Linked DNA regions of Homo sapiens: regions 1, 2, 3, 5, 6 and 7 are each linked to region 4. Evidence: promoter capture Hi-C in 16 types of primary human blood cells and fetal thymus (Javierre and others, 2016). All regions are on one chromosome and are shown on one strand. Each heading gives the region's core, a stretch centred on a gene start or on the middle of the fragment in contact. The rest is flanking DNA. Distances are from core to core; before and after follow the strand shown.

Region 1 (3,612 bases), core at 88-2,587, 1.0 Mb after region 4:
CTGTCGCTCAGGCTGGAGTGCAGTGGCGTGATCTCTGCTCACTGCAAGCTCTGCCTCCCGGGTTCACACCATTCTCCTGCCTCAGCCTCCCGAGTAGCTGGGACTACAGGCGCCCGCCACCACGCCTGGCTAATTTTTTGTATTTTTAGTAGAGACGAAGTTTCACCATGTTAGCCAGGATGGTCTCGATCTCCTGAACTTGTGATCCGCCCACCTCAGCCTCCCAGAGTGCTGGCATTACAGGCATGAGCCATCGCGCCCAGCCCTTATTTTTTTTAAGCAGGAGGTGGAGGGAGGTGGGAAAGTTTTTTTCTTTCTTTTTTTTTTTTTTTTTTTTAGGAAAAATCTATGAGAAGCAGGGAGATTATTATTTTTATTTTCCCCCTCTTACTAACCACTATACAAATGAGAAGGGATTAATTATTAGTTATGAAAATCATTGGTCTTTGCAAAATTATTCAAATAAATGCCAGTTACCAGCTCTACCTAAACTGACTGGACGAAAGCCTATATTTAAGCTTACTATTGTGTTTGTTAATTTCTAATAAAACCTGCTCCCCAAATGGTCATAATCCAGAAGGAAAAACTAAATTATTGAAGAATTTGAGCATTAAATTAGGCCATAATCAGCCTATCGTGCCTACTTGATATTACGAAGTTAGCATTGTTGAGTGCACACTCTCCTTGCCACTCCTCCCCTTACCTCATATAACCTAGAGAATCATGTTATGATACTCTAGGATCACTCACCTTGGATATCAACTGTCAGACTTTGATAAACTCCCACAGGGATTTAAAAGCCTCTGTACTATCTGTGGTATGCCAGATCCAGAAGCACATAGGGACTCTAGACTGGATGACAAAAGCAAGAAGAATAATTTACAAGTAGAACCTGTGATCATTCCATATACACTTGACCCTTGAACAACATGGATTTGAACTGTGCAGTTTCAAAATATGTGATTTTGTTTGTTTATTTGTTTTTTGCTTTTTTGAGACAGGGTCTCACTCTGTTGTCTAGGCTGGAGTGCAGTGGCGTGGTCTCTGCTCACTACAACCTCTGCCTCCCGAGTTCAAGTGATTCTCCTACCTCAGCCTCCCAAATAGCTGGGATTACAGGCGTGTGCCCTCACGTGCAGCTAATTTTTTTTTTGTATTTTTAGTAGGGACGGATTTTTGCTATGTTGACCAGGCTGGTCTTGAACTCCTGACCTCAAGTGATCCACCTGCCTCCGCCTTCCAATGTGCTGGGATTACAGGTGTGAGCCACCACACCTGGCCATGAATTTTTTTCAATAAATATATTGGAAAATTTTTATCAGTGACAGTTTCAAAAGACTGACAAATGAACTGCATAGCCTAGACATATCCAAAAAGTTAAGAAAAAGGCATGTCATCAATGCATAAGATATATGCAGTTACCAGCTATCATTCACTAACGTAATACACAAATCTATTATAAAAAGTTAAAATTTATAAGAACTTATTATACACACAAACAGATCTTACATGGGCCCCATTCACAGTCAAGAGAAATAAAACAAATGTAAAAATGCAGTATTAGGCTGGGCAATGTGGCTCACGCCGGTAATCCCAGCACTTTGGGAAGCTGAGGCGGGCAGATTGCCTGAGCTCAGGAATTCGTGACCAGCCTGGGCAACAAGGTGAAACCCCATCTCTACTAAAAATGCAAAAAAATTAGCTGGGTGTGGTGGCAGGCGCCTGTAGTCCCAGCTACTCCGGAGGCTGAGGCAGGAGAATCGCTTGAATCTGGGAGGTGGAGGTTGCAGTGAGCTGAGATTGCACTGCTGCACTCCAGTCTGGGCGACAGAAAGAGACTCCATCTCAAAAAAAACCCAAAAAACCAGATTGTGTATTTATAGAGTATGTTGTTATTTTATTAAAAGTTATGTGTAAAAATTATACAAATAAAACTGTGTGTAACTACATAATTATATATAATTATTATATATTATGTGTGTAACTACATGTAATTATATATTAAAATATAGTTATATATGTCTATATGTAAAATTATATCTATATCTTTATATAGATAAGCAGATAATATAAGCAAAGGAAAAAAGCCTGATGTAATATGTACCGAAATGTTAGCCTAAGGACTAAAACCTCAACCTGGGATTGTAAAAGCTTTTCTTAGTATAAAAGTTTAAATTTTTTTTTTTTTTTTTTTTTTTGAGACAGAGTCTCACTCTGTCACCCAGGCTGGAGTGCAGTGGTGCGATCCTGGCTAACTGCAACCTCTGCCTCCCAGGTTCAAGCAGTTCTCCTGCCTCAGCCTCCTGAGTAGCTGGGACTACAGATGCCTGCCACCATGCCCGGCTCATTTTTGTATTTTTAGTAGAGACAGGCAGGGTTTCACCATATTGGCCAGGCTGGTCTCGAACTCCTGACCTCAGGTGATCAGCCCACCTCGGCCTCCCAAAGTGCTGAGATTATAGGCGTGAGCCACCATGCCTGGCCTAAATGTTTTTTAAAAAGCAATCATCTTAAAACAAATTTATGGTACAAAATGAAACATTTTAAAATGTACATATTACTAGTTATATACAATCACTTTTGTCTCTTTCTTTTCAATGCTCGTCTGTACTTTATACTTGTCAAAATTTACATATTTTCCTAGTTTTCTTTGCTTTATTCCTGTTGTATGCTCAGGGTCAGCAGCTTGCAATAAACCACAGTTTAAAAAATAATATTAGGCTGGGCCGGGCGCGGTGGCTCACGCCTGTAATCCCAGCACTTTGGGAGGCCAAGGCGGGCGGATCACGAGGTCAGGAGATGGAGACCATCCTGGCTAACATGGAGAAACCCCGTCTTTACTAAAAATACAAAAAAAAATTAGCCGGGTGTGGTGGCGGGCGCCTGCAGTCCCAGCTACTCGGGAGGCTGAGGCAGGAGAATGGCGTGAACCCGGGAGTCGGAGCTTGCAGTGAGCCGAGATCGTGTCACTGTACTCCAGCGTGGGCGACACAGCGAGACTCCGTCTCAAAAAAAAAAAAAAAAGGCTGGGCACAGTGGCTCACGCCTGTAATCTCAGCACTTCTGGAGGCCAAGGTGGGCGGGTGATCACCTGAGGTTAGGAGTTCGAGAGCAGCCTGACCAACATGGTGAAACCCCATCTCTACTAAAAATACAAAAATTAGCCTTGTGTGGTGGCGGACGCCTGTAATCCCAGCTACTTGGGAGGCTGAGGTAGGAAAATCGCTTGAACCTGGGAGGCAGAGGTTGCAGTGAGCCAAGATCACACCATTGCACTCCAGCCTGGGTGACAGAGCAAGACTCTGTCTCAAAAAAAAAAAAAAATTAGATAAAAGTTGTGATTATGATCTTAGTGATAATAATGTAAAATAGAGCAAGTTTAGGTAAAATTTCTAAAAATAAGCTTTCTTGGGGAAAACCAACACACTCACAAATGTTACTCTCAAGTGTTACTCAAGAACCTTTCAGAAGGGATATCATGTGGAATCCTTCAGAATCTCTTTGTTTGTATGTCCCTGGAGACAGACACCAAAAACTTCCAGGAGCATTGCTACTCTGTGTTTCTTACTACAGCCCAATTGGCACAATGGGAACAACTCTGATGCTTTTAAT
Region 2 (3,487 bases), core at 522-3,021, 1.2 Mb after region 4:
GGATCCTTACCTTCAAAACATATTTACTAGGACTTGCCATATTAGGCTTCACCTGGGGCATCCTATGGCCTTTTTTTACCCTAGTCAGCCTTTAGGTTTGTCTTAGAGTAGTTTATAATCTATTGGTCTGTGCTAGATTCATGCTTTATTGGTATTCTCAGGAATCCAACAGTTGTTGGCTGAGAAGAAAAGATCACCCAAAAATCTGTGTAATCAGAATGTTCTCTCTCCCAAGTGACAAAATGAATCAGTTGTGTTTTTTTTTAAAGAGTGAAAAGTTAGTTCCTCTTTTTAGCAGCAAAAAGGAAAGGGGAAAAAAGGGCAGCTTTGACATTTCTTTTTAGACATCCAAAGAAAGGTTGCGGTTGTCTGGCACAGGCATCACAAGGGTTCTGATTTTGCAGCTTAGCAACATTTCTCAGCCCCTTGCCTCATAACTACGCTCCCTTTCCATCATGCCTGCCCAAACATAGCCGGAGCCTGCTGGACATGAGGTTTGAGAACTGAGAATTTCATGTGAGAAAGTGGGGTCATGTGTAGGCAGTTCTCTTTAAAAGTCCTTGGTGAAGGGAAGAAAAAGGACTGTAAGTGATGGTGCAATGTGGAGTCAAGGAATTTTTTCTTTTTTCTTTTTCTTTTTAAGGGAGGGACTTGGGCCTATTTAGCTGCTGGTGGAAAAGACCCACTTGAAACTGAAAGGTTCTCCACAGATTGTTTGCTGGATGAGAGTGAGGGATTATAACTCCACAGTGGACAAATTAAGCTGTTAACAGCTGAACACACTGAGGAATCTTAGCTTCACTGATAGTAGCACAAAGAAACATTAAGTTCATCCTGATGTGCTACAGTATGAAGTCCACAGCATCACCTGGAAGGATTCTTGCCAAATATATTGAACCTGAATATAATCTAGCCGGTAGATCTAACTTCCTTCCAGTTTACAAGCAATCAGTATAGAAGATAAACAAGTTAAACAGTACCATAAGAAGTAAACAGATTGGGGTACATTGTGTAGGACAAGTGATTTAGTCTTTTTTTTTTTTTTTTGAGACAGAGTCTCACTCTTCACCCAGGCTGGAGTGCAGTGGCGCAATCTCAGCTCACTGCAGCCTCTGCATCCTGGGTTCAAGCGATTCTCCTGCCTCAATTTCCCGAGAAGCTGAGATTACAGGCGTTTGCCAAGATGCCTGGCTAATTTTTTTGTATTTTTAGTAGAGATGGGGTTTCGCCATATTGGTCAGGCTGGTCTCGAACTCCTGGCCTCAAGTGATCCACCCGCCTCGGCCTCTCAAAGAGCTGGGATTACAGGTATGAGCAACTGCACCTGGCTGATGATTTAGTTTCTCTAATAAGTCAATGTCAGAAAGTGCAAAAGAGCAGGCAGGAGATGGATACTTCTAGATGGTGGGACAAGAGACATAGCTAAATGTATTATATAGTTCTTAATTGGATCTGGATTTGCACAAATCAGATGTAAAAAGACATTGGTGGAAGAGTTGGGAAAATTTGAAAATCTACTGGGTTTTAGATATTAAATAATTTCTGTTAATTTTGGTAGTTATGATAATAGTATTGTGGTTTGGTAGATATTGAAGTATTTAGGGCTGAAATGTCTTGATGTCTGTAACTGACTTTAAAATACTTCAGCAAAAACAAAAGATAAAGCAAATACAGCAAAAAAAATTAATACTTTGTGAAGCTATGATGAATATTAGGGTTGTTCAGTCTTTCTCTGTGTTAGAACATTTTATAAATAAAAAGACTAAAAATAGAGAAAAGTGTAAGAGATTGAATATACTGGAAGTATAAGATTACTTAAAAGGTGAGAGTTTAAATCACTGGTGGAGGGGCTGGGCATGGTGGCTCATGCCTGTAATTTTAGCACTTTGGGAGGCCAAAGTGGGAGGACCAGTTGAGGCCAGGAGGTCAAGACCAGCCTGGGCAACATAGCAAGACACTATTTCTCAAAAAAAAAAAAAAAAAATTAGCCAGGCATGATAATGCATGCCTGTAGTCCCAGCTACTGGGGGAGGCTGAGGTGGAAGAATTGGGTGAGCTCAGGAGTTTGAGGTTACAGTGAGCTGTGATTGTGCTGCTGCACTCCAGCCTGGTTGACAGAGTGACACCCTGTCTCAGAATGAATGAATGAATCACCAGTGGAGGAATTGGCCCAAACAGGAAAGAAGTCAGCTATTCTATTATAAGAGAAAGGAAGGGCCAGGTACAGTGACTTATGCCTATAATCCCAGCACTTTGAAAAGCTCAGGTGGGGGGGATCGCTTGAGCCCAGGAGTTTGAGACAAGCCTGGGCAACATGGCGACCCTGTCTCTACCAAAAAAGAAAAAAGAAAATTAGCTTGACGTGGTAGTGCCCACCTGTGGGCTCAGCTACTTGGGAGGCTGAGGCTGGAGGATTGCTTGAGCCTGGGAGGTTGAAGCTGCAGTTAACCACCACTGCACTCCAGCCTGGGCAGCAGAGTGAGGCCTTTGTCTGTCTGTCTGTCTGTCTGTCTGTCTGTCTGTCTGTCTGTCTCTCTCTCAGTCACACACACACACAAGGAAGATGAGGAATATGAGTCAGTTATGTATGTATAGCTTTGTATATCTAGTAGTGGAAGATTGAAAAAGTTCATGTTTGATGGCTTCTACTTTATGATATAGATGGCAAGGTCATCTGCTGCAAGAGGGCTTGTGAGAAGGTCAAAATTTTGAAAAGATTGCAAAGGAATTTAAATATTTGATAGCAAAAGCAGAAGCAGTGCATACAAAGCTGTGCAGGGTTGCCAGGTAGTTTTGAGGGCCCAGTTGAGATTGGTGATGTGAATTTGTAGTAGAACTGATATGCCCCATTGTTTGACTTTCTCAATCAATGTTTGGCCACTTGAGTGCTGGCTGAAAGAAAGTAGGTAGCTGCTTTCATCCAGGGTTTTGCTTTTGCTGTTGAGTGTGACAAGATGGAAGGGCAGGCAGGCTAGGGTACTGTGAAAAGGCTTGAAGTTCTGGACCTAGAATGCCTGATGAAGTACTGGATGAAGCCTGGTTAAGAAGGGATGAGCCACAAACTCACTATTTTCCACATTGGACCCCTCATCTTTTTTCTTCTGAACCCTATATCCATGACTGTAAAGGACCTGGGATCTTTACCTACTTACAAGCGAATAAATGAGTCTGTTACTGTTTGATGAAACTCCTTGGTCAGAGACAAAAGATTTTATTACTCAACGGTGAGTAGCATGGTGTGATGATGCTTTGTGTTGATTCCCGGTGTTCCCCAGTGCCCACAGGGTGACACAGGTAGGCCCAGATGGATGCTGCACGTGCACTGGATTTCATCACAGCCTAGAGACACTGAGCTTGGGGGTTTTACCCCTTTTACAGTAAATAGAAGCCATTCTGCTCTTCATCTCATGAGGAGACATTGTCTTATTCCTTGAGGTTGCATGTTGCAAAACAACCCTGAGAGATGGCCCAAGTAACAGCCACTAGG
Region 3 (3,808 bases), core at 1,231-3,730, 1.5 Mb after region 4:
CTCCACTTACTTGGGGTTTGGCCATATGAAAGACCTTGGCCAATGGGATTTGAGTAGACATGTCATGAGACATTAGAGAAGCAGCTTTAAGAGGCTTCACAAGTTTCTAACAGCTTTCTGGCTCTTCCCATCTCCCTTGAGAATTGCCAAGTTCTACATAGGGGCAGCTTCTTCAGCTTGGGCACTGGATTGAGGAGACCCATGGAGCAGAACCTCAGCTGACCCAGCATGTAATACAAATAAGAAATAAACCTTTGTGGCCATCAGCCATTTTTTTTTTTTTCAACCGCAAAAGTGATGAATATATTGTTTGTGGCTTTTTTTCCTTTCACCTCATGTGCTGAAACTCATGAAGTCCAGCCAATTCTAAACTACAAACTCTGACTTATGAGACTACTGTCACTGCCATGAGCTTCAAATATCTATTACACAAGCATCAGATTTGCCTTTTCTTTCTCCCCGAGGCAGGGAAGGAAATGCCCTAGCTGTCTGAGAAGAGTATGTGAGCAGAGAACATGGAATTGTTCAGATTTTCATCCTGATGGACAAGAACACATCAAACTATCAAACATAAAACTTGAAAACTCCAAGACATTTATCCTTCCTGGACTCAAGGTATTTACAGGGCAGAGGAAATATCTCTTAAGTAATTATAATGTGGGACAACAAATAGTGTGTCATCAAGGTGTGCGGAGAAAAGTGCTGTGGGACCTCATGAAAGAAGAGGCCTGGAAGGACAGGTAGGATTTGACAATTCAAGGGGAGGGGAGAGAAAGCATTTTGTATTCAAGATGCAGACAGAGCTAAATTACAGAGGCAGGAAATGAAGGGGCATGGATGGGGGTGTGAGTGAAATGATGAGGGGAGACTGGTGGAAGGTCAGATCGGAAAGGCTCCGCAAGGCCTACTTGTGGTCCTAGATAAGGAGTGTGGACTGTGAAGTTCTAAGACTGGCTAAAGACCATATAGAAAAGGGGCTGGAGAGTGGATTTTAGCAGCATTTATTATTTTAGAAACAATATAGCCCTTTAAAATAGTGACACATAAAGTAAATGTACCTATACAGCTGGAAAAACAATTCAGGTGATGGATTACTCTCCCCAAATGGCTGGTGTACACTGTGTGTATATGTTTGTACTTCATATTCATTGTACTTATGAAGTCTTTTATGGTTTGTTGTTGTTGGTATTGGATTGGTGCATTTTTCAGCCAAAGAAACAGCCTTGATTTCCTGCAGTTGTTTCCCTACTAATAGGGCACATCTTACTATACTTAGATCTCCTTGGCATTTTAATTCGTGTTTTAAAAAATAACCACACAATAATGCAAATGTACTTAATGCCACTGAACTGTACTTTTTTTTTTTTTTTTTTTGAGACGGAGTCTCGCTCTGTCACCCAGGCTGGAGTGCAGCGGCGCGATCTCGGCTCACTGCAAGCTCCGCCTCCCGGGTTCACGCCATTCTCCTGCCTCAGCCTCCCGAGTAGCTGGGACTACAGGCGCCCACCACCACGCCTGGCTAATATTTTTGTATTTTTAGTAGAGATTGGGTTTCACCGTGTTAGCCAGGATGGTCTCGATCTCCTGACCCCGTGATCCACCCGCCTCGGCCTCCCAAAGTGTTGGGATTACAGGCGTGAGCCACCGCGCCCGGCCTGTACTCTTAAAGTAGTATATTTGTTATCGTTTGCCACACACAAAAATAATACCCCAGCAGATCTTCATACGAGTTAATTTACGCTATAAGTTTAGAGCCGGAATTTCCTCAGCTCATCACTCAGTGTTAACATTGAAGATGTCCAGGTTGGTTATGAAGGATGTGACATCCTAGCGTTGGCCACTCTTTTCCTGGTCCTTCCTGTCTTGCAGGTGAGCCTCTGGGGGTCAGGAGAAAGTCTCCTCTATCTCCTGCTCACTTTCGTGTAGGGGAGGGAAGGTGTGTGTGTGGGTGGGTGGGGGCGTTTTGTGTGAGGGAGGCCGATACTGGGCAGGCAGCCACGCTCTTCTTCCTCCATCCTGGGGCGGAAGTGGGGAGAGCAGCAGTTTAAAGGTTCTGTTGCAGCAGTTTAAAGGATCCACTCAGCCGCCTTAACCGCCAACCAGCAGGCTAAGGGAGGAACAGAATGAACAATGTTTGGATCCCAATGACTGGAGATGAAAGTTGCAAAAGCTCTGCCCAGGCTTCTACCAAGGATTAACTTTCCAGGGCATCTGCTGAACTGCTCTTCGGGGCTGTCTGCTGAGATTGGCGGCGGGACCCTCCCGCCTCTCACTCGTGCCTTTGTTCCCCACGCCGGCCTAACCCCGCGCCCCTGCGCTCGCGGCCAGGGCACCTGACCCACGCGCCGCCCGCCGGGGATGCGGGAGCCGCCACTGCTACCGCTGCCACCGCTGCCGGGCCTGCTCCGCCAAGCACATGCGCAGTGGCGACGCCGAGCCGGCGCCCTCAGTCTCCTCCTCCACCGCCTCCCGGTTCCGCAGTCACTTCCTGCAGCTGTTTCCCTGTGGGTCGGGTTGGACTGACTTTTGACAGTCAGCCTTCGGCTGCGGAGGGGGCTCGGCGGCGGCCGGCGGAGAAAGTTGCTCCGAGAAGAGGCTGGGTCGAGCTGGGCCGAGCCGGGCGCGCAGGGCGGGCGTCGCGGGCGTCCCGGGCGGACGCGGCGCGGAGACTGCCGGCGCGTCCCGGGGGTTCCGGTAAGTGCGGGCGATTGGGAGCCGCGGAGCTTTCAGGACGAGCCCCTGGAGCGCCGGGGACTAGCGGTTCCTTTCCGATGCTCTTTCCATCTGCCCTCCACGTGACAGGGCTTGCGCTGCTTCTATTTATCAGTTTGCTTGTTTCAGGCATTTCACGTGGACCAGGTGGATCATCTGTGCGTGCAGCTGCCTTGGCCCTCTCAGTTGCCCCCGCCCCGTGGGAGTCGGGGGATTCCATCCTTCGTGATGGCATCCATACCGGGTTGAGGTGCGTGTGTGGGTTCGTGTGTATGCATGCACATCTTAGGAATGTAAGGTGGATGTGGGCGACGCTGAACTGTCTGTAGCTTTGATTCAAATCTGTAAACAGTTCTCTAGGATTAGGAACCGTCACAGCGGAGACTGAAAAACATTCGCCAATTCACCAAGGCCTCTTCCCCAGTTTTCTGCGTTCTTTTGAGCCTTCTTTATAGGATACACCTTGCCTCAAGTGATTATTATTATTATTTTTTTTAACTTTTCTCCCTCTCATTCCTTCTTGCTGCGTTCTGATGACCTCTGAGTAATGCTCGCTGCCTTTCCCTCATTTCCAGAATTCCCAATTACAGACTTACCTAGTTTGCTGAGGTGCTCCTAACCTGTTCCTTTATTCTATTCTCTTTCCTCTGTAGATTTCTCCAAATGAGACAAGAGATTGTCTTTAACACAGTATGTGAAGAGTAGGCCCCAGTCCAATCATTAAAACTAAGTATGCTATGACAATTAATTTTCTTTAAACAGGGTACCTTGTGAAGCTTTGATTTTCTTTAATGTCGTCTTAGCTCCTTTCCAAACCAGGACATTAACCAGCATAAATCCTTCATTTATGCCATCGCAAGCATCAAAGTGACTGGTTTTTAAGATTTGAAGAATATTTATGCCAGTCTTCAAATTAGTCCCTTTTAAACCAATGCAACAGTTGAACAGATCTGAGTTGCATGTTTTGGGTCTCTGTATTCCATCATTCATGCATTCACTGAAGACTTGGTTTTATTCATTTTAAGATTTATATTTTATACTAATTTTTGTTTGCAAATGTACTAATATTTGATGCAATTGTCATACATAGATTTTT
Region 4 (3,621 bases), core at 697-3,196:
AATTTAAATAAGGATTTAGTTAAAAGTAATTTCCGTGTCCAAACACAGTAAAATATGTTTGCTGGTTCAGTTAAAAAACTAAAATCTCATGAAACTTTCCATTAGTTTAGGAACCAAATATGATGGCTTATGACAGTATACAACATGCATCAAAAACAAACTAAAATTTGTCTAAAAGGTATAAGGATTCCAGTGAAAATGAAATGCCAATTCTCCAAAGTATTTTGTCTGTTATCCAATCTGTAATACCTTCTGCTTTTCTTCCTTTTTATCTGCCTGGATAGATGGCAAATACCCAATCTTTTATCGTGACACATTAGTTTAAATTCAGGACTATCCATCTTGGGCAAAGTATCTTAATATAATGTACAAACCACTTACATTTAATTATTGTAAATATATAAATGAAACTTCTCTCCAAATTATCCACATGAAAATATACAATGCCAAATATTAACTAATTAAGAATACATATGTTCAACTACAAGAAATAAGTCTGAATATCAATCAACCTCACCACGTCCACTGATACCTCTTTGAGCATTTAGAAAAGAACACTGTGCCTGCCAACCAGTTTAAATTTAAAAAATCCCAAAAACCAGAAATGGAGGGAGAAACTGGGTAACTTACACTAATTTTTTTAAACTATTTTTCTCCAATTAACATTTAATTTCCAAAAGCATCTTGGCAGGTATACTTGAGCACAACTGCATGCAAAGATATAGTTCTTGCATTGAGATGCGTTAACAAAAACAGAAGCAATCCAAGTAACAAAAATAACTTACTGTGATTTCTAAGTGGGCTATATCTCTCATGATACCACTTCCTAAACAGATCAACACCATGAAAAAACCGAATTCCCGAATAGAACTAATTCTTCCAATCACTATATCACCACGCTCAATATCTCGGAAAAACAGCTCTCTCCGATCCATACTAGGTATCTCCATGAATTGCTCTAAAGGTGGCATGATTGCATAATGATCTAAAAAAAAAAAATTAACAAAATCACTAACGATAGTTTTGAGTTCCGTTTCACCTGAAGTACTGTTAAACCGAACCGCAATCTTAAAGATTTTAAGGCTAAACTGACCTTCACTGTCTTCATTAATTTCAGAAGTTGCAGGTGCATCTGATTTCCAGGAAAGTGCAAAAAGCAGATCCGCTTTTTTGGAGATGAATTTCTGTATCTCGATGTTGTCAACTCTCTTCTCTTTTCTTAAAAAGAAAAAAATATATATGAAAATTGGGTTATCTGCAAAGCCTCTTTACTTCTAACCTTCTGCTTATGGCTTTCATCGCCCATTCCGCTCCATCCTAAGCTGCAGACAATACAACCTCAGACAAAAAGTTTTAACTAGGCATTCCCTCATTAACCAACCTGGAGGTGGAGAGCGGGGAAACTTAAAAAGTGACGCCTCCAACTCAGATAGGAAAGCTCAAGGGATTTTTAGCTAAGGAATCTGCGCCTCTACCAAGCAGTGCCAGAGAAAAAGTTCAGCCCGCATCCCGCATTGCACAACCCAGGAGCGCCCCCCGTCCACCCAGCCCAAGACACCAGCGCGCGATCGTCCTGTGCTCACGGCCGCGGCTCCACTTCCTCTAGACGCAAACCCGGGGCTGCGGTAGTGGCTGCCAGAGCTGCGTCCCCTCTTCCGTGGCGCAGTGGCACCAACGTCTCATTACCTGCCCTGCAACGGGTGCTGGGGCGGCGGGCCCCGGGCTGGCTCGGCGGCCGACCCCAGGAGGCTACGGAAGTGTGGATTGTCCTGCTGTTCGCTCCGAAGTAGAGAGAGCAAAGACGACCCGTGGCAATTTAGCGACTGCCGCAAAAGGTCCCGGTCCATGGCTAGAGAATGCAGGGCCCGGAGGCCGACGGGCTGATAGTTCCCTGTTCCGTGTCCGCTACTTGAGCCGGGTGGTACAGGAAGCGGAAGAAACTGTCTGGAGGCTGCCGGAAGTACACAGACAGCACAACCAGTTACACCCGGAAGTGTTCTGGGGTCGCCCCCACGGCGGCGCGGCGGAGCTCAGCCTCGATCTCGCGAAACCGAGCGAGACTACGGAAGGCCGAAGGATTGGGCTCAGCATTGCTTGGGCTAAAGGCTGACTAGGGCTTCCAGGAAGTGATGTATGTGAGAAGTTTGCTTTTTAAAGTGTACGTGGGATCGTTATTACGTCGAAATAGCTCGAGCTGTAACCTAGGGTAAATAATAATTCCTTTTCGTATTCATCAAGGTGCTTCTAAGTGCCAGTGCCAGGGTAAGAACCCTATACGAGTCTCCAAGCTTCTTCCCTCGACGTACTCTCTGCGTAAATCAATACCTGTGTCTCTGGCGTAACCCCATTCAACCGGCTGCTCCGGGAAGGTTTCCAGGTGGTTTTAAGGGCAGAAGAAAGGAAGGACACGGACATTTGTTAAGCACCTGGAGTGGTGTTCTCCATCCATACCCCATTTACTGTTAGTGATTGTGAATTCTAAAACCAGGATGGCTTTAATGTCTCCACACGTGCATATGCCATTCAAGTTTTACAATAACTAATGAACACATGCATTTCTTATTTAGTTTATCTCAATGGTTGCTCAAAATTTAGTGTCTGTGGGACTTACTGTATAGTGGTATGTACGCAAAAGTCAATATACTGTTCTTATGGACAATTCAAGTGATTTTCAAAGGGAATTTCAACTTAGGTCCCCCATCCCCTTACTTACTGACTTGAGAACCTAACCACTATGGTAGCTATTGTACTTTTTCATTTTAGAAAACGAGGAAACATGCTCAGAGAGTCCCAGTAAATTGCTCAATGGCACACAGCTAGTAAGAGGCTAGAGTTAGGATTCCAAACGAAGTATTAATTGGTCTTCTCAGGCAGAGTTGCTGGATTGAGTATTTTATCATATGGAAGGTCTAACTAACCCTAATTTTGAGATCATGTAGCTTCGTTTTATTCCAGTATAAAATTTGTACCATTTAAATATGTTCAGTGTAAATAGTTCAGTATAGTCCTCTTGAACAGAAATAAACGGTGACAGTTAGTCTCTCCACTTCCCACCATGTGTCTTTGAGGAAATCAACTTGCCTTTCACTGTGTTACCACTTTTGTATAGGAGATCTAGCCCAGAACATAATCGATACTGCCACACTGTTTTGTGGAAAACCCAGGCAAATAGGTAAACAGTTTGAGACTTGAGAAAATGCAACAAACAAGAATGCAACTGTAAAAGATAAATTTGGGTTAGGCACGGTGGCTCACACCTGTAATCCCAGTACTTTGGGAGGCCGAGGGTGGATCACTTGAGGTCAGGAGTTCAGAGACCAGCTTGGCCACCATGGCCTAACCCCGTCTCTACTAAAAATACAAAAATTAGCCGAGCGTGGTGGCTCATGCCTGTAGTCCCAGCTACTCGGGAGGCTGAGGCACGAGAATCTCTTGAACTCCGGAGGCGGGGGTTGTAATGAACTGAGATCGCGCCACGGCAGTCCAGCTTGGGCGCCGGAGGGAGACTCCGTCTCAATAAATAAATAAATAAATAAATTTCAAGCTTCTATAGGCATATCAACTTTAATAAATGGTACAGACTGACTTGTTTTAAGCCATAACTCTAGAGAATGGTTGTTT
Region 5 (3,428 bases), core at 787-3,286, 1.0 Mb after region 4:
TATGGTCTAGACCCGACACTCAAAAAAACTTACAATCTATTTGGAAAAAGACTAAAAGACATGTTAAAAATTCAAAGAAGAGCATCTGTCTTCAATTTGGCTTCCACCTAAACATTCCATTAAAACTACTGACATAAGTCACTAATGACCTTCTTTTTTCTTTTTTTTGAGATGGAGTCTCGTTCTGTCCCCCACACTGGAGTGCAATGGCACAATCTCAGCTCACTGCAACCTCCGCCTCCTGGGGTCAAGCAATTCTCCTCCCTCAGGCTCCCGAGTAGCTGGGATTACAGGTGCCCGCCACCGTACCCAACTAATTTTTGCATTTTTAGTAGAGACAGGGTTTCACCATGTTGGCCAGGCTGGTCTCGAACTCCTGACCTCAGGTGATCCACCCACCTCAGCCTCCAAAGTGCTGGGATTACAGGCGTGAGCCACCGCCCCCAGCCACTAATGACCTTCTACTAGGCAAATTCATGGATACTTAACATTTTTAATCTCATCTGACTTCTCTAAATTATGACAGTATTGCCTACACAAGAGTTTACAAACTTTTCTGTCACAGCCCAAAGAAAAAATGTCATTAATTATATATTTCCACAGGCCCACCTGGATTTTTTTAACTTCTTTCTTAGTGTAAAGCTTTCAATGTCACAGCAGAAAACACCGAGAATAACTGGAATTTTATGCTTCCAGAAACTTTTTCTTTTCTTGTTCTTCCCCTGCTTTTTTTCCTACATCCCTAATTGTTCCCTTTCTTTCTCCTTCAAGGGTACCTTTTATTCTCTATTGGTTAAAATATACAACAAGTTTTTGCTAGAACTCCATCTTCAATCCTCTTCTCATGTTCCAATTTTTTTCAGAGTAATAAAATGCAACTCCATGTCTTAAAATCTTTCTTATAACCTTTTATTCCCGTTTACTGAATTATCACCTGGATGTTCTAAGTACTTTGAACTCAGTGAACCCATTTACTTACTACACATGAAAGAGTTAACACTGCAAGCCTGAGAAAGGCCTGCTTGTAAGGCTGACTCTTAGCTGGTGTCTGGAAACATGACTGGCAAACAGTTCCCTATGTTCATATAAAACTTGTCCCTAAATGGTAAGGGTAGCTCGCTATACCTACACTGTTTATACAATGTGGTTTGTTCTGAACACTTGCTTTCCTTCTGAGAATCTAAAATTTTGTTACATGCCAGGTAGATGGTACCTACATAACCAGCCCTCTGTAAAATCCTTGGGTACTGAGCCTCAGAGTTCTCCTGGAAGGTAACACAGATCATAACTTGTTGCTGGAGGGATTAAGCACATCCTGTGTGACTCCACTGTGAGAAGACTCTCCAAAGCCTGTATCTGGACTTCATCATCCCCTGTCCCTTTTCCCTTTGTCGATTTTGTTTTGTATCTGAATCTTCAGTACAATAAATCTTAGCTGTGAATACAACCATATGCTGAGTCCTGTGAGTGAGTCTTGCTGGTGAATAATTGAACCTGAGAGTGATTTTGGCTATCCCTGATAAGCTTGTTTTTTTTTTTTGTTTTTTTTTTTGAGACAGAGTCTCACTCTGTCACCCAGGTTGGTGTGTAGTCATGAGATCTCAGCTGCAACCTCTGCATCCTGGGTTCAAGTGATTCTCATGCCTCAGCCTCCCAAGTAGCTGGAATTACAGGTGGTACGCATCACCACACCTGTCAAATTTTTGTATTTTTAGTAGAGATGGGGTTTCGCCATGTTGCCCAGGCTGGTCTCAAACTCCTAGACTCAAGCAATCCACCCACAGTCTCAGCCTCCCAAAGTGCTGGGATTATATAGGCGCGAGCCACCACGCATGGCCAACCATGCCTTTTAAAACCGTAACACTTGCTCCTTCCCTTTATATTCCTATCTCAATGCATGGTACTCTCTGTTCAGAGTTACCCCAACCAAAAATCTAGGAAACTTTCTCAACTTCTCTCTTGCTTTCACTCCCTCGATCATTTAGTACCATTTGTCTCCTGGTTACCCTGAAAGTCCCTTCAGAATCTCTACCAGCATTATATAATAGTTTAAACCTTTTTCATTTCTCATCTGGACTCTGACCATCACATCTGTTTAAATTCCTTTGGGGTTATCCTTCAGTCACTAGCTTAATACAACCCTGGGATGGTTTACAAGCCCTTTTATGACTGCTCCCTGCCTACCTTTCCTGCTACTGCTCTCTGCCTACCTTTCCTGCTACTGACCCTAATAAGCCCAATGCTGCAACCATACTTAATTGTATTACATTTTCAAGCACATAAGTTTCTTTCACAATTCCATCCCTTCACACATGCTGGTCCCTTTGCTTTACCCAGCTTTGTCAGCCAAGCTAATTCTTACTCATTGATCAAGATTCATCATGTTACCTCCTTTGTGAAAACCATCACTGACTCCCAACACTAGAGTCAAATACCTCTCCTCTCTAATCCCATTGCTCATTGCACATACCTATATTGTACCACTTATCCCACAGTGTACCATTATTTGTATATATACATCTATTTCCCCCAACTAACTGTAAGCTTTTAATGAAAAGGAACATTTCTTATGCATCTTTGTATTCTCAGTGTCTGGAAATCAGTTTGTGGAATAAAAAACAAAACAAAACAAAAAACCATGGTTGATGTTCAACTTATAGGAAGCTACTACTTTGTATCTAAAATATAACATGTACACTCCATAATCAATTCCATGGGGAAAACATCATACCCATCCCATTTTTTAGAGGTGAAATGGCCTCCATATTCTCCCTCGGAACACGCAGAGCATTAGTATCTATGTAGTAGGTGGGACCGCCTTGTTTGCCTTTATCGCCATCTATTTCCATTAATGTGCTTCCGTCATCTCTTTCTACCACCATACCAATAGCTGTAGGAAAATCCACCTGTAAGAGTCAGAAACATGACATACAAGTTTCACCTTTCATCAAGAAGGCATTTTTTCCCCAATTAATGTATTTTATTATATTTTGTTTTGAATCAGAATTTCTGCATAAATTTAATTTACATGAATGGCTTTACATATCCAATTAACTCTAACATTACACTTACCTTGGGGCAGTCCTCACCAGCATAACCAGCTCTCACAGTATAGGATCCAATGTCAAAAACAAGGGCTCCAACTTCATCTGAAAAGATTAAAGATAATTAGCATTAACAGCTTGCAAAAGTATCATATGAAAATCACAGCTCACTGCAGCCTCAACCTCCTAGGCTCAAGCAATCCTCCCGCCTCAGTCTTCCAAATAGCTGGGACTACAATGAATTTCTTAAATTTTTTGTAGACATAAGGTCTCACTATGTTGCCCAGGCTGGACTCAAACTCCAGGGCTCAAGCAATCCTCTGCCTCAGCATCCCAAAGTGCTGCAGGCATGAGCCACTGCACTCAGCCCAATTATATTCATAT
Region 6 (3,916 bases), core at 1,002-3,501, 1.6 Mb after region 4:
GGCCAGGCTCCTGTGGCTCGTGCGTGTAATCCCAGCACTTTGGGAGGCTGAGGTAGGTGGATCACCTGAGGTCAGGAGTTCGAGACCAGCCTGGCCAACACGGTGAAACCCCGTGTCTACTGAAAATACAAAATTAGCTGGGCATGGTGGCATACGCCTGTAATCCCAGCTACTTGGGAGGCTGAGGCAGGAGAATCGCTTGAACCTGGGAGGTGGAGGCTACAGTGAGCTGAGATTACACCACTGCATTCCAGTCTGGGTGACAGAGCAAGACTCTGTCTCAAAAAAAAAAAAAAAAAAAAAAAAAGCACAATTCATTATGATTAAGAAAAGTCTAAACATATATTAATAATTGTAATAAATGTAAAATTACCAAAGTCCAAAAAATGTTAAATTGGATGAAAGAAATCCATCTGAAATGAAAGAAGCTGGGATAGCTGTATTAATATCAGAAAAATAAATTTTAGGATAGATTATGTTCTCTGACCAGAGTACAATGAAATGAGATGTCAACAACAAAAATAGAAAAGCAAACAAAATTTCCATTTGTTTTCCAATTTAAAAACACTTCTAAATAACTCATGGTTCAAAGAAACAATTATACTGGAAATTAAAAATTCCTACAGTGAAACAGTAATGAAAATATATTAACACTTGTAGGATGCAGTGAAAGCAGTATTTTGAGAAAAGTATTACCTATATATTATTATAGTGGAAGTGAAAAGCATAAAGTTAACGAACTAAGCGTCCAGCTTATGAGGTCAGTAATGTAAAAAGAAGAAAATGAAATGATCAGTAATGTCACCAACACTTTTGCAGATTTCATTCTAGTCTCTTCATATGTATGACTTCTTTAAAATAGAAATGGGATCCTAGTTTGGGATATTCATAGTTTACTTAATAGCGTAAGAGTTTTCTATAGCATTATTATATTTAGCAATGGCATAGTTTTCCATTGCATTCATTACCATACTTTCTTTAATCCTATTTTTGAATCTCTTCTTCCCCCTAAATTTTTGCTTTTATAATCACTGCTGAGATAAACATATTGCTATTAAATCTCAGTGTGAAAATTCTTAGTATTTTCTTAGGATAATTCTTACAAGTAGAATTTTTGGATTAAAGGGTTAGCATAAGCATAAGACTTCTGATATAATGCTTGGAAATTAAAGTATTTTTAAAAGCGTATTCACTTTTTTAGAGACACAGCCATTTGGAATTTGGGTTTGGCTCTACAGCAATTTTTCTGACAATGGTTGGAGGAATCATTTTATCTTTTTAGATCGAACCTGTGTAAAATTGTAATTTTAAAAATCCATTAACTTCACATTCACTTAAAGCTAAGAATCTGTGAATTTTATAATTTGAACTTAGAATTACAAATTACAGTGATAATTGGTCAGGTTGTCATTCACTTAATGAATATTTTGAATATATTATTTTTATCTCTTGCTTTAGCAGGTCCTTACTTCAATCCCCGCTCTCGGCAGAGAATTCCACGTGATCTGGCCATGTGTGTTACTCCAAGTGGCCAGTTTTACTGCTCAATGTGTAATGTTGGAGCTGGCGAAGAGATGGAATTCCGGCAGCATTTAGAGAGCAAGCAACATAAGAGCAAGGTGTCTGAACAGCGGTACAGGAATGAGATGGAGAATCTGGGATATGTATAGTGATTATCATATTAAGATAGAGCAGCTTTTCCTGCCTGTTGTTTGCCTTTTGTCAACTTGCCCTGCTTTGTGGTCTTTTTGATATGAGTACATTCCTCTGCTTAATGTTAATACATGTAACCCACAGTGGTACCATGAGATGTCAAAACCTGGGGGCCCGGGGGCGGGGCGGGGGGAGGTGGGTGTGAAGAACGTGCTTCTTAGGTCATAACGCTTTTGCAGGGTCAATGGTGTTGAGCCGCTCATAGCATGTGACCTACCTACCCCATCAGAAATAACTTTTTATCTTGCTCAAGTTCTGGTCAACTAGTAGCCTGACGGCTTAGAACTTTGACTATTTAAAAGTTTCATTTTCTTTTGCAATTTTAGTTTTATGTACTGTTAAAGAATTGTACTGAATTCTTTTTAGATCACAGTAAAAATAGGTTGGCAGAGATTTCAGTTTCCCAGGGCTTAACCAGAACCGCCACCTCAATGCATTGTCAGTAGAATACATTATTAGAAACTGTTAAGGTCTTTCCCGGGACATTTTTTTCTGCCATTTTCTTTTGCAATTGTAGTTTTATGTACTGTTAAAGAATTGTATTGAATTCTTTTTAGATCAAAGTAAAAATAGGTCAGCAGAGATTTCAGTTTCCCAGGGCTTAACCAGAACCGCCACCTCAATGCATTGTCAGTAGGATACATTATTAGAAACTGTTAGGGTCTTTCCCAGGACATTTTTTTTTCTGTATCATGTCTCCCCATCATTGAAGCGCAAATTTTCTTGAATTCAAATACTCCCAATGAGCTTGTATACTTCCAAACAGCTAAACTTGATTTCCAGTTGTGGATTTCACACATATAATTGCCGCCTTCTTCCCTCCTCTTTTTTCCCCCCTAGTTGAATCAGCTTGTCTAACAAGCCCATTTTCATGCCCCAGCTGTGCTGTGGGTTTTCCAAGCCTCATATTTGAATATTCAATGAGTTTAAGATGGATATGATTTCAAAAAATAGGGCCGGGCGCGGTGGCTCACGCCTGTAATCCCAGCACTTTGGGAGGCCGAAGCAGGCGGATCACGAGGTCAGGAGGTCGAGATCATCCTGGCTAACACAGTGAAACCCCATCTCTACTAAAAATACAAAACATTAGCCGGGCGTGGTGGTGGGTGCCTGTAGTCCCAGCTACTCTGGAGGCTGAGGCAGGAGAATGGCGTGAACCCGGGAGGCGGAGCTTGCAGTGAGCCGAGATCGCGCCACTGCACTCCAGCCTGGGTGACAGAGCGAGACTCCGTCTCAAAAAAAAAAAAAAAAAAAAAAAAAAAATATATATATATATAGATATATTTTCCAGCAGTTTTTAGGAAACAAAGGTGTGTTTGATTTTCCAATTTAGAGTTACTTCATTGATAGTAACATGCGCTTATATCATGATCTAAACCATAAGTTCAGATTGCTTGATATTTTGTTTTGCCAGACTTTTTTGATAATCTGATTCTTACGGTTTACTTACATTTTCCTCTGTCTTGCCAGTCTGGTGGCCATCCTGAAAAATATCACCACCTGCTGTTTTATACACAGAGGAATTTTTTAAAAAGCAAATAAAGTTTCACTATCTTCGTTTCCAGTAGAAATATACACGAACTATGGTTTTATTCTTTGTAATTCGGCTTTCTTGAAGATACTAACAAGTATATGATAGATCACTTTGGCATCTGATAATTATATCAGTATTATTATTTTTGTTTTTTTGCGTTTAAAATAAGAAGTTGTATGAACCCAGGAGGTGGAGGTTGCAGTCAGCCAAGAATCGTGCCACTGCACTCCAGTCTGGGCGACAGAGCAATACTCCGTCTCCAAAAAAAAAAAAAAAGAAGCTATAATATATATCTAGATTAACTAATGGAGTGCTCTGTGAATATTCATTAACTACATTTTATCTATTTACTATATTTTATATGGGTAAGACCAGTGGTCATCCGTATTTCTTTTGAAAGCCCACTTGATCAGGAAGTTTATATTTTAAGCAGTATGTTTGCACAATGGTCAGTTCACATTTGATTGCTTGTATTACTAATTAGAGGTAAAACTTCTATTTTTTCTTGATAATTCTGTAGGCAAAAAAAATTGGGGAAGGCAAATTACAATCATTCTTCTTCTGTAATACTTTGGGACAATTTTTAAACAACTCAGACCCATGTTTAAAAACGAGTTTTGTGTGATTAACCCTTGTATAGTATCCAGTTACTGTCTTCTCTTGAAGTGG
Region 7 (3,427 bases), core at 480-2,979, 1.2 Mb after region 4:
GTGAGCTGACATCACATCACTGCACAGTGACTCCGTCTCAAAACAAAAAAACAAACAAAAAAAAGAAAGAATGTGGGCTTTGGAGTTGATCCAATCTGATGTCATGCAGGGCTCTACCAATACCTTCGTGACTCCGATAAATTAATCTTACCAGGGCATCAGTTTGCTTATCTGTAAAATGGGGATAAAATTCACACTTCAAGGTAATTATGAGGATTAAGTACAGTATAAGAAAGCAGAGAGCATGGTCCGTAATAGGCACTCTTTAACAATTTCCCTTTGCTTCCTCCGAAAAACGACAATCATAAAACTCAGGATTTAATCATTAAAACATAAATAGTTACAGATGCAAAACACTCATGTCCCAACGAGCTCTTCTGACACTTTGATATGCAGAATATTTGGCATTTCTTTCTTCTTAATGGAAAAATGCTCCTAATATTAGTAAAAATGAAAATTTTGGGGGAAAAATTATCCACAGTTTCTTTATCTGTGGATAAAGAAAATAGAAACAGCTGCTTCTATTTTTGTCACGGCCTGGCTTTTATACAAAACGGTCACATTTTCCCCACAGTCACAAACAGGGTGTGTTTATCATGGCATCACCTCTTTCAAGGGACTAATAGATTTATTCCAGGTGATAGTGGGAAGCAGCTACAGAAGGAGGATTGGAAGGCTGAGGGGTTGTTAAAGTTATCTGATGATATTGTTCGAACATTTCTCCGGCACAGAAACTCCACAAAGAACTCCTCTGCAGTTTTCGCTACCCAGGGCTGTTTCTTTAAATTGTTTGACGTCAGAGAAGGAATGCTATAGCAACAGTCTGTCAAACTGGAATTAACTCAGAAGAAAAATGGGGGTGGGGAGAGGAAAAATGCTCCCAGGCGGTACTGACTTCAGAGGAAGCAAATTGGATAGATGCATTTATTTTATGACATTTTAAACATAAAACACCCAGATAAATGTGAAAAAAAAAAAAACTCGATTGAGATGCATGTGGTGTTTAACTCATGCAGAGAAGAGCGACTTGGCAGGGATATCTGGAAGGCCTTCCAGTTTTATCAATGACAATAGGAACAATAACTTCCAAGTATTGGCCATTTATTTGGAGGCAGGCTTCGTGCAAACATCACTTCATTTAATATGCTTAGCACCTTTATGAGGCAGGTATCAGTATCTTTATTTTGGCGATGACGAAACTTAGGCCCGAGACGGTACACGGTCCTACAACTAGTGATGGAAGAGCGGGGACTGCAACGCAAGGTTGTGCAACTCTGGGCTTCAGTTTACTTTCTGACATTTAGAATTCCAGAATGGGAAACCTAAATGGGGCCTTTGGGGTCTTCTAGCTCTGCCCTTCGATCCTGCTAACAAGCAAACTGGCGCCTGTCAGCGCCGGAAAGGAAACTGGCCACGCCACTTAGACGGGCGCTACTTAGCAGCGTGCCCCGGCGCCACACCAACAAGAAAACGAAACTGCCCGGGAATGAATGTTTTTCTTCTCCTTCTGGCAGGAAACGAGAGAGAAAATAGGAAGCAGAAGCTGCGCGCGGCGCCCGCTCCCTTCGCCCCCCGCCCGGGCTGCGCGCGCTCCGAGGGTCTGCGCGTCCCCGGCACGTCCCCGCCGGGCCCGCGCGCCTCGTGCCTCGCGCCTCGCGCCTCCAGCCACGTCCCCGCCCCGGCTCCGGCGCGCCGCGGAGTTGGCTGCTGGGAGGTGCGGGACTGGGTGTGGCCGGCGGCTCTGGTCTCGGCTGTGAGCTGCGCTCTCCACGCCGGCTCCGCGCTCCAGGGGCTGCTGAGCGCCCAGCGGACACCGGCAGCGCGCGGTCGACGCGGGCCTGAGCTCCCTCCAGGTAGGCGGCGAGCTCGCGAGCGGCGGCTCGTCGGTGCGCCCCGCGAAGCGATCCCGGGCTTCTCGCAGGGACGTGGGGCGCCGCGAGCCACCCCTGCGGAACGGGGCCCGGGTGACGGCGCGGGGCGGGGCGGGTCTCCCCGGGCTCGGGCGGCCGACGCTGCCCGGGAGGGACGAGGAGGGCGCGCCTGTGTCGCGCCCAGCTGCCACGCGGGAACTGGCCCCACGACCGCCGGCGCAGGCACTTCCCGGGCGGTCCAGACCGCTCGCCCCGGGGAGCGAGGAACGGTCGGCGGTCCAAGTCCTGCAGACCCCCCTGGTTTCTCGTCACTCCCCGAGGCCTCCTTCCAGGAACTCAGAGCACGAGCCCGTGCGTGCCCCCAAAATAACGGGTATTCGGGACTGCCCAGCAGGGCTGTTGGGTGGAGAGTGCTTGGAAGACTCATAAAAGTTCTACGCTGAGTCCAAAATTAGTCCAATGGTTTTGTTTCAGATTTATTTTGGAAATGATATAATGTCCAGAGTTTGGGGATGGGAGGGGATTGATGAATTTTGAATACTTGTGAGTTCAGTACAATAAAAAGTGTTTTGCTTTTCTCTCCACCTTTTTCTGCTTCAGAACACAGATGATTGCCATATACTTTGATATGTATTGCTATTCGCTAAGGGAACGTTGAATTTTCAAAAGTTTGAAACCAGGCTTTCATTTGTTTATACAAGCAATACTTTGTTATTTTTCGTCTCCTTGTGTTCCCTTTTCTCCCACTCCTTCCCTTTCTCTTTCCATAAAGGATAAGGATGCATCTTTCTCCCTCTCAGCCACCGACAAAGTAGCTTGGCGTGTGGCTTAGCGGGAAGTTTTCTTAAAACGTTCAAAATTTAATTGTTGATTAGAACTTTTATTATGAGTCCGTCTCAGTGTTGCAAACAGAGTTTATGACCATTAAGTACATCTTCTAGGACAGAGACAGAACACACGCTACTTAATTTAAGATGGGAGGGAAGTTATTTCTAGTCGGAGAGGAGGACGGCTGATTAGGTGCATTCAAAATTGTGTGCTTCGAGTCTCTGCCATTGTTCATTTTAATACTCTTCAGTTTGGGGCTTTTGGTTTACTACTGATCCTAGGCTCTGAAAATTTACTGTATATTTCAGTATGTGGCTTAAAGACATTTTAAGATTTTCCATGTTGCATTTTGGTTTGTAGATGAATTTGAAACTGAAATAGAAACTTTTAAAATATCATCTTATTGAACGTTGTCAACCCTCTGTATATACATTTATAAAACTGATTGATACAGCTTGTGATATTTTAGGTTGGTTCAACTCTTTGTGGGCCCATAAACATTATTTAGGAAGTTATTCCGAGTCTTTGGCCTTTGTTAACCTGTAGAATTGTTTCTTTTAAACAATTGGCATGTAAGTATGTCAGCACATACTTTTACACTTTAAAAATAGACTCTGGGGCAATTTGAAAATTAAGAATTGGAACTAAGTGTTGGACATTCTTCTGGCCTTACCAAATACTGCCTGAGATGGTGTGATTTCTCTTAGGCATGTTATTGAAGTCAGCTG

Evidence for each region. Contacts are between HindIII fragments. The CHiCAGO score rates a contact against its expected background, and 5 or more counts as called.
Region 1: a fragment that was not itself captured here is called in contact with the fragment with the promoter of TTC14 in region 4 in 4 of 17 cell types (total CD8 T cells, total CD4 T cells, naive CD4 T cells and 1 more); the score reaches 7.2 in total CD8 T cells.
Region 2: a fragment that was not itself captured here is called in contact with the fragment with the promoter of TTC14 in region 4 in 1 of 17 cell types (monocytes); the score reaches 6.3 in monocytes.
Region 3: the fragment with the promoter of ZMAT3 here is called in contact with the fragment with the promoter of TTC14 in region 4 in 5 of 17 cell types (total CD8 T cells, naive CD8 T cells, M2 macrophages and 2 more); the score reaches 7.6 in total CD8 T cells.
Region 5: a contact is called between a fragment that was not itself captured here and the fragment with the promoter of TTC14 in region 4, in 6 of 17 cell types (total CD8 T cells, naive CD4 T cells, naive CD8 T cells and 3 more). The highest score is 7.8, in total CD8 T cells.
Region 6: a fragment that was not itself captured here is called in contact with the fragment with the promoter of TTC14 in region 4 in 1 of 17 cell types (non-activated CD4 T cells); the score reaches 5.7 in non-activated CD4 T cells.
Region 7: the fragment with the promoter of GNB4 here is called in contact with the fragment with the promoter of TTC14 in region 4 in 2 of 17 cell types (M2 macrophages and monocytes); the score reaches 6.2 in M2 macrophages.

The regions. Positions count from the first base shown.
Region 1 is chr3:179,551,902-179,555,513 of GRCh38, reverse strand. No RefSeq gene overlaps it. Among named protein-coding and RNA genes, the nearest start is that of ACTL6A, 9.2 kb to the left of the region's middle. The HindIII fragment of the contact is 1,633 bases long and covers 521-2,153 here.
Region 2 is chr3:179,429,118-179,432,604 of GRCh38, reverse strand. The region is part of intron 1 of GNB4 (G protein subunit beta 4); the gene reads left to right. Among named protein-coding and RNA genes, the nearest start is that of GNB4, 21 kb to the left of the region's middle. RefSeq lists an enhancer at 279-338. The HindIII fragment of the contact is 4,091 bases long and covers 1-3,487 here.
Region 3 is chr3:179,070,481-179,074,288 of GRCh38, reverse strand. It overlaps ZMAT3 (zinc finger matrin-type 3), which reads left to right and starts at 2,480. Exons shown (of 6, transcript NM_022470.4): 1 at 2,480-2,694. RefSeq lists silencers at 2,054-2,463, 2,604-2,753. The HindIII fragment of the contact is 9,531 bases long and covers 1-3,490 here.
Region 4 is chr3:180,600,488-180,604,108 of GRCh38, reverse strand. TTC14 (tetratricopeptide repeat domain 14) reads right to left here and starts at 1,946. Exons shown (of 12, transcript NM_133462.4): 1 at 1,687-1,946; 2 at 1,094-1,218; 3 at 786-985. The coding sequence starts at 1,847. It overlaps TTC14-DT (TTC14 divergent transcript), which reads left to right and starts at 1,996. Exons shown (of 3, transcript NR_183700.1): 1 at 1,996-2,206. RefSeq lists an enhancer at 1,866-2,155. The HindIII fragment of the contact is 2,365 bases long and covers 1-2,290 here.
Region 5 is chr3:179,569,545-179,572,972 of GRCh38, reverse strand. ACTL6A (actin like 6A) reads right to left here. Exons shown (of 14, transcript NM_004301.5): 2 at 3,073-3,149; 3 at 2,732-2,906. LOC124909462 (a long non-coding RNA gene) reads left to right here. Exons shown (of 2, transcript XR_007096181.1): 2 at 1,203-1,450. Among named protein-coding and RNA genes, the nearest start is that of ACTL6A, 8.3 kb to the right of the region's middle. The HindIII fragment of the contact is 1,020 bases long and covers 1,527-2,546 here.
Region 6 is chr3:179,022,771-179,026,686 of GRCh38, reverse strand. ZMAT3 (zinc finger matrin-type 3) reads left to right here. Exons shown (of 6, transcript NM_022470.4): 6 at 1,459-3,916. The coding sequence ends at 1,670. Among named protein-coding and RNA genes, the nearest start is that of ZMAT3, 47 kb to the left of the region's middle. The HindIII fragment of the contact is 6,996 bases long and covers 1-3,916 here.
Region 7 is chr3:179,449,772-179,453,198 of GRCh38, reverse strand. GNB4 (G protein subunit beta 4) reads left to right here and starts at 1,729. Exons shown (of 10, transcript NM_021629.4): 1 at 1,729-1,853. It also overlaps the pseudogene RPL29P34. RefSeq lists silencers at 1,559-1,708, 1,749-2,158. The HindIII fragment of the contact is 16,902 bases long and covers 1-3,427 here.